Regions from separate parts of the Homo sapiens genome. Here regions 2, 3 and 4 are each linked to region 1. Evidence: promoter capture Hi-C in 16 types of primary human blood cells and fetal thymus (Javierre and others, 2016). All regions are on one chromosome and are shown on one strand. Each heading gives the region's core, a stretch centred on a gene start or on the middle of the fragment in contact. The rest is flanking DNA. Distances are from core to core; before and after follow the strand shown. Region 1 holds the start of CENPH (centromere protein H). Region 2 overlaps MARVELD2 (MARVEL domain containing 2). Region 3 has its middle 16 kb from the start of CCDC125. Region 4 overlaps RAD17 (RAD17 checkpoint clamp loader component).

Evidence for each region. Contacts are between HindIII fragments. The CHiCAGO score rates a contact against its expected background, and 5 or more counts as called.
Region 2: a contact is called between a fragment that was not itself captured here and the fragment with the promoter of CENPH in region 1, in 8 of 17 cell types (erythroblasts, activated CD4 T cells, fetal thymus and 5 more). The highest score is 10.1, in erythroblasts.
Region 3: a contact is called between a fragment that was not itself captured here and the fragment with the promoter of CENPH in region 1, in 17 of 17 cell types (neutrophils, erythroblasts, total B cells and 14 more). The highest score is 27.5, in neutrophils.
Region 4: a contact is called between a fragment that was not itself captured here and the fragment with the promoter of CENPH in region 1, in 13 of 17 cell types (neutrophils, erythroblasts, total CD4 T cells and 10 more). The highest score is 12.7, in neutrophils.

What each region holds. Positions count from the first base shown.
Region 1 is chr5:69,188,138-69,190,837 of GRCh38, forward strand. CENPH (centromere protein H) reads left to right here and starts at 1,446. Exons shown (of 9, transcript NM_022909.4): 1 at 1,446-1,631. The coding sequence starts at 1,498. LOC112267932 (a long non-coding RNA gene) reads right to left here and starts at 1,340. Exons shown (of 2, transcript XR_002956215.2): 1 at 854-1,340. RefSeq lists enhancers at 1,058-1,297, 1,225-1,519 and a silencer at 1,378-1,497. The HindIII fragment of the contact is 12,435 bases long and covers 1-2,020 here.
Region 2 is chr5:69,419,276-69,422,250 of GRCh38, forward strand. It overlaps MARVELD2 (MARVEL domain containing 2), which reads left to right. Exons shown (of 7, transcript NM_001038603.3): 2 at 96-1,256. The coding sequence starts at 111. Among named protein-coding and RNA genes, the nearest start is that of MARVELD2, 5.6 kb to the left of the region's middle. The HindIII fragment of the contact is 192 bases long and covers 1,351-1,542 here.
Region 3 is chr5:69,347,301-69,350,290 of GRCh38, forward strand. It overlaps the pseudogene NDUFB9P1. Among named protein-coding and RNA genes, the nearest start is that of CCDC125, 16 kb to the left of the region's middle. The HindIII fragment of the contact is 3,012 bases long and covers 81-2,990 here.
Region 4 is chr5:69,390,922-69,393,967 of GRCh38, forward strand. RAD17 (RAD17 checkpoint clamp loader component) reads left to right here. Exons shown (of 19, transcript NM_133338.3): 13 at 910-1,092; 14 at 2,234-2,319; 15 at 2,433-2,579. Among named protein-coding and RNA genes, the nearest start is that of RAD17, 23 kb to the left of the region's middle. The HindIII fragment of the contact is 2,925 bases long and covers 1-2,736 here.

The DNA of each region.
Region 1 (2,700 bases), core at 196-2,695:
ATCTCGGCTCACTGCAACCTCTGCTTCCCGGGATCAAAGGATTCTCCTGCCTCGGCCTCCCCAGTAGCTGGGATTACAGGTGCCCACCACCACGCCTGGCTAATTTTGTATTTTTAGTAGAGACGAGGTTTCTCCATGTTGGTCAGGCTGGTCTCCAACTCCTGACCTCGAGATCCTCCCCCCTCGGCTTCCCAAAGTGCTGGGATTATAGGTGTGAGCCACAGCGCCCGGCTTTTTTTTTTTTTTTTGAGACGGAGTTTCACTCTGTCACCCAGGCTGAAGTGCAGTGGCGCGATCTCAGCTCACTGCAACCTCCGCCCCCCCGGGTTCAAACGATTCTCCTGCCTCAGCCTCCTGAGTAGCTGGGATTACAGGCGCCCGCCACCACACGCAGCTAACTTTTGTATTTTTAGTAGAGACGGGGTTTCACCATGTTGGCCAGGCTGGTCTTGAATTCCTGACTTCAGGTGATCCACCCGCCTCAGCCCCCAAAGTGCTGGGAGTACAGGGGTGAGCCACCACGCCCAGCGAATTTAACTTTTGTCAGGAGCCGTATTACATTGACAATGGAGAGGAAGAAAACAGCACAGTATGATCAAGTTTAACTAGTGGGTAATTAGCTGTAAAAGAACTCTCGACTCTTGTTCAAAGAGGTTCAAGCTGCTGTGCTTGTGCGGCAAGGACAGTGTCCAAATGAAAAACTACAAATCAGTCATCTGTCCTTCATTTTCTCCATTCCCCCCACTCACTACACAGCTAAGAAAGCTCAAAGGTACCCTGCAGACACTCAAAACTTGAGGGCACGCAACTCTCAGTTACGAGTGGTGGCAATCATAATGACAGAATGAAGTACCAGTGCAAGAAACTGGAAGCGTGTGGATGTCTCCAGGCTGGAAGTCTGGGTTCGAAATGTCTGCAATGCCTCGCACTTGTGGCCCGTCCCTGATCTTCAGAAGCCACTGGTTTCTCCGCCAAACAAAGGGTATGCACCTCATGGGCTCAGGTCAAAAAAGTCTTCTAAACAACCCTCTAATGTTTATCTTTCACAGCCTGCCGGGCACACCCATCTTCAAAGGCAGAGGACGGAAAAGTGCCAAGATGGATGGACATATGGCTGTCGCCGCACTCCCGTGTCCAAGCGCCAAGGCCGAATGACCACTTAGGTCAGGAGATTTTTCCCCTCCAGGCTGCTGTTCCCGGGAGATGTCCCAACGTCTCTAGTCCAGCCCCTAACTCAGCACTCTACACATCCGACGCTTAACGAAAGCTATTCCAACTTTTTACCAGCCGTCTGCAGTTATTTTCACCAGTAGAGCCCGGATGAAAGAGGAGCCCGTAGTAACCACGGCAACCGAAAAACAAGGCGGAAAGGGTGGGGCCCTGGGCGGAAGGGGCGGGGCCCTCGGGCCTTTTCCCGGCGTCCATTTAGTGGCGGGAAAAGCGACCTTTTCTGAGCGCGTTTGCCTGTTGAGTGGTAGCCTTTCCCCTCAACCAGCAATGGAGGAGCAGCCCCAGATGCAAGACGCCGACGAGCCCGCGGACTCCGGAGGGGAAGGCCGGGCAGGCGGGCCACCGCAGGTCGCCGGCGCCCAGGCGGCGTGCAGCGAGGACCGCATGACCCTGCTCCTCAGGTTGTTCCCTTTGGCCTCCTCAGCCGGGGCCAAGTGGGCGTTGTGGCCCGGAACTCCGCCCTTGCTCAGAAGGGCTAGGGTTCGAATTCACGCTCGGTCACGTCAGGTCTCCGTGATTGCCTCATTCACTTAAACTGTTGAAGCTCTTTCTTCATCAGCGAAAAGGAGAGAAAAATGACCCCCTGGAGAGAGGTTACAAGGGTTAAATGAGATAGTCTAGGAAAGTGTTGAGCACAGTGCCCCGGGCCCTTAGAAGCTGTAATTTCTCCTCCTGTTTCCCCGCCCTCCCCCTACCTCTCTGGTTTACAGACAAATTGAATGCCAGAGCTAAACTGGAAGGAAGGTGCCCCTACCATTTCTTTTAGAACTACGACCCTTTGTAACCCAGAAGCTTTATATGTTATAAATTCTACTAAGCGGACGGTGTTTATACTTTTCCACTAAGCGGTTGCTGGGGAAGATTCGATGAGAAGGGACATTCGTCTTCTAAACTAGTGAGCAGGAGAAGGTCCTGGGCCAAATCTGCCTAACTGCCTATTTTTGTGTGACCACTCAAGCTAAGAATAGTTTTTATGTTTAAGTGTTGCAGGGAAAAGATCATAAAAATATTTCATAACACGTGAACTCTATTAGAAATTCAAGTTTCAGTTTCCATAAACAGTTTTATTGGAGTACAACTTTCCTGCCACAAGGGTGGAATTGAGTAGCTAAAACAGAGACCGTGTGACTCACAAACCCTAAAAAATTTACTATCAGGTCCTTTACAGAAAAAAATTTGCGGTCCTCTGTTCTATATCATAACAGAGGTAGTTTTAAAAAAATCATTATTGGCTGAGCGCGGTGGCTCACGCCTGTAATCCCAACACTTTGGGATGCCGAGGCAGACGGATCACCTTAAGTCAGGAGTTCAAGACCAGCCTGGCCAACCATGGCCAACATGGTGAAACCCCGTCTCTACTAAAAATACAAAAATTAGCTGGGCGTGGTGGCGGGCGCCTGTAATCCCAGCTACTCAGGAGGCTGAGGCAAGAGAATTGATTGAACCCGGGAGGCAGAGGTTGCAGTGAGC
Region 2 (2,975 bases), core at 197-2,696, 230 kb after region 1:
TCTCCTAAATACTTTTTGCTACTACATGAATAAAATCAGCATCATTGAGAGGATAAGTAACTAATCATAAGTGATAACTTTAAATTTGGCCACAGGTGTGAAAATCACAAATGTCAAATGATGGAAGATCCAGGAATCGGGACAGGCGCTACGATGAGGTCCCAAGCGACCTGCCCTATCAAGATACCACCATAAGAACCCACCCAACTCTTCATGACAGTGAGCGGGCAGTGAGCGCTGATCCCTTGCCACCACCCCCTCTCCCATTACAGCCACCATTCGGCCCAGACTTCTACTCAAGTGACACAGAAGAACCAGCTATAGCGCCAGATCTCAAACCAGTAAGGCGCTTTGTCCCTGACTCCTGGAAGAACTTTTTCAGAGGGAAGAAAAAGGACCCCGAATGGGATAAGCCGGTGTCTGATATCAGGTACATCTCCGATGGAGTGGAGTGTTCACCACCAGCCTCTCCAGCAAGACCAAACCACCGTTCGCCCCTCAACTCCTGCAAAGATCCCTACGGAGGGTCAGAAGGAACCTTTAGTTCCCGGAAAGAGGCTGACGCAGTGTTTCCCCGGGATCCCTATGGATCTCTAGACCGACACACACAAACAGTTCGAACATACAGTGAGAAGGTGGAGGAGTATAACCTGAGATACTCCTACATGAAGTCGTGGGCAGGCCTGCTGAGAATACTGGGTGTGGTGGAGCTGCTTTTGGGGGCCGGTGTCTTTGCTTGTGTCACAGCTTACATTCACAAGGACAGTGAGTGGTACAACTTGTTTGGATATTCACAACCGTATGGCATGGGAGGCGTTGGTGGATTGGGCAGTATGTATGGGGGCTATTACTACACTGGCCCTAAGACCCCTTTTGTACTCGTGGTTGCTGGATTAGCTTGGATCACCACCATTATTATTCTGGTTCTTGGCATGTCCATGTATTACCGGACCATTCTTCTGGACTCTAATTGGTGGCCCCTAACTGAATTTGGAATTAACGTTGCCTTGTTTATTTTGTATATGGCCGCAGCCATAGTCTATGTGAATGATACCAACCGAGGTGGCCTCTGCTACTATCCGTTATTTAATACACCAGTGAATGCAGTGTTCTGCCGGGTAGAAGGAGGACAGATAGCTGCAATGATCTTCCTGTTTGTCACCATGATAGTTTATCTCATTAGTGCTTTGGTTTGCCTAAAGTTATGGAGGCATGAGGCAGCTCGGAGACATAGAGAATATATGGAACAACAGGAGGTAAGTGATTTCATAATCCCTCATTTGTGTGTGTATGTTTGTTTTTTCTGTTATTTGCTCCCTTGTTAAAAAATGTATAGCGCTCAAAACAGAAAGCTTTCATAGAAATCTTTTCTTTCTTCCTTTTTTTTTTTTTCAATGGTCTGAGATTCAAAAGTCCTAGTGCAATATCTGACATGCTTTGACTGGGATAACCCACTCTGGTGTTTGGCTGTTACATAACATTGCAAGTAGACACCAGATGTGTAATATATAGTTTGTTGGCTGCATTATTATGTCTGTCTGAAGCTTAAGGGAAAGATACAGCTACCGAATTTTTGCAAAGAAGAAGAGTGTACTCAGTAAAATAAGTGTCTCATCATTAAGTTTGAGAACAATCTTAATTCTTTAATAAAAGCTCCTAATTTTTCATTTAAATGTTACAATTTACTTTCTCCCAGTGAGTTGAATAAAGCCAAATAAGAATGTGGTAAACCATGTTTGATTTTTTTTAAGTATTGAGAGATTGAATTGTAATGAACATACTCTGAAAACTTGCCCAGTGGTTTTGATAATTTGTCTTTATTTGAGGAAGACGTATGGTCCAAAATGAGAATGGAAGTCCTACATTGTTTTTATATTTCTAGAACTTAATAGGATAATAATGAGAATAAATAATAATGAGAACAATAAGAAGAATAAAATAATAATAACTGAAGGATGAGATAAAAGCCCTACCTAAAATTATTTTGGTTGAACAGTAGCAAATGTTAGAGTATGTTCCACTGGCTACATTATTCTCTGAAGTAAGTTGATATTTTGCCTTCTTCCAAGGATATGTGTATAGTAGACTCTCCTATGCCACTGAAATTTTCAGTATTTACCTTAAAATTTTTTGTAATTTTAAGTTAACTATATTATGAATTTTTGCTTTTCCACTTTTCCTAAGACTTCTTAGATACTATACAATTGCACATGGTATATATTGGGCAAAACTATAAATAAAAATTAAATCCTGTCCTTATAACAGCACACACTGACATATGTATTTTGTTTTTAATCTTTTGCTTGAATCTGATGCATAGCAACAAATAGCGCTTTGGTTTTAAAATTTTTTTAATTTTTTTTTTCTTTAGAGATGAGTATTTGCCATGTTGTCCAGGCTGGTCTCAAACTCCTGGACTCAAGCAATCCACCTGCCTTGGCATCCCAAAGTGCTGGGATTACAGGTGTGAGCCACCATGCCTGGCCCGTTTTTTGGTTTTTTTAATTTTCTTTTCTTTCTTTTTTTTTTTTTTTTTGAGACAGAGTCTCACTCTGTTGCCAGAGTGCAGTGGCACTGTTGCGGGAAGTCAGGGACCCCAAACAGAGGGACCAGCTGAAGCCATGGCAGAAGAACATAAATTGTGAAGATTTCATGGACATTTATTAATTCCCCAAATTAATACTTTTATAATTTCTTATGCCTGTCTTTACTGCAGTCTCTGAACATAAATTGTGAAGATTTCATGGACACTTATCACTTCCCCAATCAATACCCTTGTGATTTCCTATGCCTGTCTTTAATCTCTTAATCCCGTCATCTTCATAAACTGAGGAGGATGTATGTTGCCTCAGGACCGTGTGATGATTGAGTTAACTGCACAAATTGTTTGTAGAGCATGTGTGTTTGAACAATATGAAATCTGGGCACCTTGAAAAAAGAACAGGATAACAGCAATGTTCAGGGAACAAGGGAGA
Region 3 (2,990 bases), core at 337-2,836, 160 kb after region 1:
CACAGCATTCCAGCCTGGGTGACATGGCAAGAGCCTGTCTCAAAAAAAAAAAAGAAAAAAAATTAGTCTACTAAATGTTAAGCTTGCGTACAATTTGTCTTTGGGAATTTACTCAACAGATAAACTTGCTCATATGCATAACGCATATGCATTAGGGAACACAACTTAGTGAGTGAAAGCCTGCCTAAGATAGAACACTGAAGCTAATACTTTTTAGCTATTATCTTGGATAAGCCACTTAACTCTTCTGTGCCTTGGTTCCTGTAATGGAAATAATAATAACATCTACCTCAGAGAGTGGTCATGTGGATAAAGAATTCACTTTTGAAATGTGTTTAGAAGTTTATGTCATAGTAATATATTTACTCTTTATTATTCTTGCATCATTGTAATAGTAAAAAGCTGGAAACAGCCTAAATGTCCATTAGTGAGAGGACTGATTAAATCAAACTTGGCATGTCTTTTTTTTTGAGACAAGTTCTCACTCTGTCCGCCCAGGATGGAGTGCAGTGGCTCAATCACAGCTCACTGCAGCCTCGACCTCCTCAGGCTCAGGTGATCCTCCTGCGTCAGCCTCCTGAGTAGCTGGGACTATAGGTGCATGCCACCACTCTGGGCTATTATTTTATTTTTATTTATTTATTCATTTTTTTGGAGACAGTGTCTCACTCTGTTGCCCAGGCTGGAATGCAGTGGCACAATCTGAGCTCACTCCAACCTCCGCTGCCTGAGTTAAAGCGATTCTCCTGCCTCGGCCTCCGGAGTAGCTGGGATTACAGGCATGCACCACCATGCCTGGCTAGTTTTTGTATTTTTGGTAGAGACGAGATTTCACCATGTTGGCCAGGCTGGTCTCGAACTCCTAATCTCAAGTGATCCACCTGCCTTGGCCTCCTAAAGTGCTGGGATTACAGGCATGAGCCACTATGCCCAGCCTCTTTTTTCTTTTTTTTAAATAGAGACGAGGTCTCACTATGTTGCCCAGGCTGGTCTCGAACTTCTGAGCTCAAGTGATCCTCCCACCTAGGCCTCCCAAAGTGCTGAGATTACAGGAGTGAGCCACCATGCCTGACCTATTTTTTTTTTTTTTGCGACAGAGTGTGGCCCAGCCTGGAGTGCAGAGGCACTATCTCGGCTCACTGCAAGCTCTGCCTCCCGGGTTCATGCCATTCTCCTGCCTCAGCCTCCCGAGTAGCTGGGACTACAGGTGCCTGCCATCACGCCTGGCTAATTTTTTGTATTTTTAGTAGAGACGGGGTTTCACCGTGTTAGCCAGGATGGTCTCAATCTCCTGACTTCGTGATCTGCCTGCCTCGACCTCCCAAAGTGCTGGGATTACAGGCGTGAGCCTCCGCGCCCGGCCTGGCCTATTTACTTAATTAATTAATTTATTTATTTATTTTTAGGAACAGTGTTTCACCATGTCGGCCAGGTTGGTCTCAAACTCCTGGGCTTAAGTCATCCGCCCGCCTTGGCCTCCCAAAGTCCTAGGATTACAAGTGTGAGCCACAGTGCCTGGGTACTTGGCATATCATTAATGGCTTTTTTTTTTTTTTTTTTTTTTTGAGATGGGAGTTTCACTCTTATTGCCCAGGATGGAGTGCAATGGTGCAATCTCGGCTCATTGCAACCTCCACCTCCTCGGTTCAAGCGATTCTCCTGCCTCAGCCTCTCAAGTAGCTGAGATTACAGGCACCCACCACCACGCCCGGCTAATTTTTGTATTTTAGTAGAAACAAGGATTCACCATGTTGGTTAGGCTGGTCTCAAACTCCTGACCTCAGGTGATCCACCCACCTCGGCCTCCCAAAGTGTTGGGATTACAGGCATGAGCCACTGGGCCTAGCCTCATTAATGCCATTTTATGCAAACATTAAAAAGATGAGGGATCCAAAGAAGATAAACCAATAGGCACATGAAAAGATGCTCATCATAAATCATTAGAGAAATGTAAATCAAAACCAAAATGTGATATACTACTCACCCACTAGTATAGTTATAATAAAAAAGATGGGAGTTGCCAGGCAAGGTGGCTCACGCCTGCAATCCCAGCACTTTGGGAGGCTGAGGCGGGCAGATTACCTGAGGTTGGGAGTTCGAGGGAGAAACTCTGTCTTTACTAAAAATACAAAATCAGCCGGGTATGGTGGTGCATGCCTGTAATCCCAGCTACTTGGGAGATTGAGGCAAGAGAATCGCTTGAACCTGGGAGGTGGAGGTTGAACCCTTGAACCTGCAGTGAGCTGAGATCACGCCATTGCACTCCAGCCTGGGCAACAAGAGTGAGACTGCCTCAAAAAAAAAAAAAAAAAAAAAAAAAAAAAGGCCAGGCGCGGTGGCTCACGCCTCTAATCCCAGCACTCTGGGAGGCCAAGGTGGGCAGATCACGAGGTCAGGAGATCGAGACCATCCTGCCTGACATGGTGAAACCCCGTCTCTACTAAAAATACAAAAATTAGCCGGGCGTGGTGGCAGGCGCCTGTAGTCCCAGCTACTTGGGAGACTGAGACAGGAGAATGGCGTGAACTCGGGAGGTGGAGCTTGCAGTGAGCCGAGATTGCACCACTGCACTCCAGCCTGGGCGACAGAGCAAGACTCCGTCTCAAAAAAAAAAAAAGATGGGATCAAGCAGTCATGGTGTTCTCGATGCTGGAGGGCCTACTTGACCTATCACCAGAAGGTGTTGCTGCTTTGTAACCAGGCGCTGTACCACCTCAAGCCATGGTGCATCCAGAGATAAATAATGGTATATTTTGCCTGTTTGATGAGAGCCTGGTTTGAAGAGCATAGGAAAAAAAAAAAGGGTATGATGGAGGCTACCCCACTGCTGAGGGAGGCAGAGGAATTCTGGTATCGTCAGCATTCACAGCCATTCTCTTCCCTGACTCTCTGGGGGTACTTCCTATGAGAGATACGAGTGATATGCTACAAGTCTCTGGAGTGGTGCTTAGATGACTGGAATCCTTCTGAGAAGGCAATGTACCCTGATT
Region 4 (3,046 bases), core at 24-2,523, 200 kb after region 1:
CAGCCTGGGTGATAGAGCCAGACCCTGTGTCAAAAAAAAAAAAAGGCCGGGCATGGTGGCTCATGCCTGTAATCCCAGCACTTGGGGAGGCCAATTTGTGTGGTTGGGAGGTTGTGACCAGCCTGGCCAACATGGTGAAACCTCATCTCTGCTAAAAATACAAAAATTTAGCCGGGCATACACCTGTAATTCTAGCTGCTCGGGAGGCTGAGGCAGGAGAATCGCTTGAACCCAGGAGGCAGAGGTTGTGGTGAGCCGAGATCACACCACTGCACTCCAGCCTGGGCAACAGAGCGAGACTCCATCTCAAAAAAAAAAAAAAAAAATTCTCCCTTCACAGGGTTGTTATGAAGATTAAATTCCTATGTATTACATGCCAAGAACAGTATCTTGCACATAACACGATGAGAAACCAAGGCGATGTGACTGTACAGGTTGAATATCCTTTATTTGCAATTTTTGGGAATAGAAGGATTGCAGATTTTTTTAAGATTTTGGAATATTTGCATTATACGAATTGAAAATCCCTTGTCTGAAAATCTGAAATACAAAGTGCTCCAATGAGCATTTCCTTTGAGCATCATGTTGGCACTGCAAGTTTCATATTTTGGAGTATTTTGGAGTTTGAATTTTTTGGATCAGGAATGTCAGCCTATATTAGAGATTGTGCTATTGTGCATGTGAAAGTTTGAAATCTGCATTATGAAATAACTTTCAGATAATACTTTATTCCATTTTAATGTTAGTAACCCAAAGAGGATTCCAACTCAGTTAATGTCATTTATAATTTTTGTTTATTAGGAAAACAAATTGTAATTAGAATATTTAGTGTAACTATATCTGAAGTGTTCTTAGTTTTAATTTTCATATTTTAATTTAAATATTGTCACTTGGATGTATATTATTCAGGAGAAAACAACTTACGGCCAAGGAAAAAAGGAATGTCTTTAAAATCAGATGCTGTGCTGTCAAAATCAAAACGAAGAAAAAAACCTGATAGGGTTTTTGAAAATCAAGAGGTCCAAGCTATTGGTGGCAAAGATGTTTCTCTGTTTCTCTTCAGAGCTTTGGGGAAAATTCTATATTGTAAAAGTAAGAAATTTTTACACTTTTAAAATCTGTTGGATATCACATAGTCTTAAAATGGAAATAAAATGTCACTTTTAAAAAAATGTCATGTATTTTGGTTCTGCTCTAAGAGTTAGAGCTAGGTCAGATACTGTTTGCCTAGGCCTAAGACATAGTAGGAAATCAGAATATTTTCTGACCGTAAGCAGGATTAAAAGTAAAAACATGCAATTGCAGGCCATATCCATGTGTGTAAATCTTTAAAATTATAGTTTGCTGAAGGTAAGAGAGCAGATCATCTAGACTTGTAGTGGCAAGTGTTGGTAGCCTAAAGCCCTCTTAACACTGGGCTCCAGCCAACAGAGCCTTATACAAATTACCAGGTAGTTTAAGGTTTCTTTCAATCGTCTTGTATTTCTCTAATTTACAAGCGTTCTGTCTCCCCAACCAGAGATGTTTATCGCCTTTTCTGTCTTTTTTGATGACTGCTCCCCCTCAGTTCTTTCACTCCCTATTGCCCATTTTAGTGTCCCAAATAATCCCTCCTTTTGATAGCAAATGCCTGTTTTCAGTCTGATGACCCTAAAGGAAAGAAATTAGGATTTCTAAATGGAAACCTTCATACCATCTGAGGAAAATGGGCATCACTTAGGTGGCAGTGAGGACACTCCTCTGTCACTGGATCCTCTTACTTTGAACCTGAGTGACTATTCCCACCTGATTCTTTTCTTTCTCTCCTTTCTTTTCCTCCCCAACATACGTTTATCGTCTCTTGCATTAGTGAATGGAATTCGTATTCTTTCATGTAGAGAGCAACATCTTCCTACATAGTAAATAAAAGAGTAAAGACCACTGTATTGAGATGAGAAATCAAGGGAAGAAAGCAACCCAAAGCTGAAAAAGGTGAAATGGGAGTGCATTAGGAAATGGAATATTTTAAGTCTAGAGAAGCCATAATCTAAGCATCAGAATTGTTAATTTAGTTCTTGCTAATGTGGAAAAAATAGGTGCTTGCTTCCAGTTGTTTTTTATTTATTTATTATTTTTTAACAGTTTGTTACTATGTTGGTATTGTATGTCTAAAATTTTCAAACTCTTCAAATGAGAGGTGCTATATAATTATAAAGAAGGTATTATCTTTAATAATTCCAGAAATTTTTTATAGGAGCATCTTTAACAGAATTAGACTCACCTCGGTTGCCCTCTCATTTATCAGAATATGAACGGGATACATTACTTGTTGAACCTGAGGTAAGTTCTTTGATGACACTTAGTATAGGTTACAAAGGATATATTATTCGTGTGCATATATATTTGACCATTGCATTTTTACCAAATTTATGTATATATGCTTCTTTTTATAGGAGGTAGTAGAAATGTCACACATGCCTGGAGACTTATTTAATTTATATCTTCACCAAAACTACATAGATTTCTTCATGGAAATTGATGATATTGTGAGAGCCAGTGAATTTCTGAGTTTTGCAGATATCCTCAGTGGTGACTGGAATGTAAGACCATTTGACTTAAAATGTTTATGTTTATAGTATTTCCTTAGAATTAAGAAAAGAAAGTTTACTTTTATCCCTAATTGCCTGACATTATTTTATGTGACTTTTCTTCATAACTATGCTAAAGTTAATGTAACCAACTCAGTGTTTATAATGAAGCTTCAGTAGCAAATCTGATTTTTCTGCTGATAATATAGCACCAATTGTTTCTAAAGTTATTTTCTTTTTTTCTTTTTTTTCTGTGTGTGTGTGTAGAGACAGGGTCTTACTGTGTTGCTCAGGCTGGTCTCAAACTCCTGGGCTCAGACAGTCCTCTCACCTGAGCCTCCGAAAGTGCTGGGATTACAAGCGTGAGCCACCACACTCCTGTCTCTAAATTTTCTGATTTTGTGTTTTGTGTTATGGTGGTTTTTTTTTTTTTTTTTTTTTTTGAGAAGAGGCTCTATCTACAGCTATGTTACCCAGTC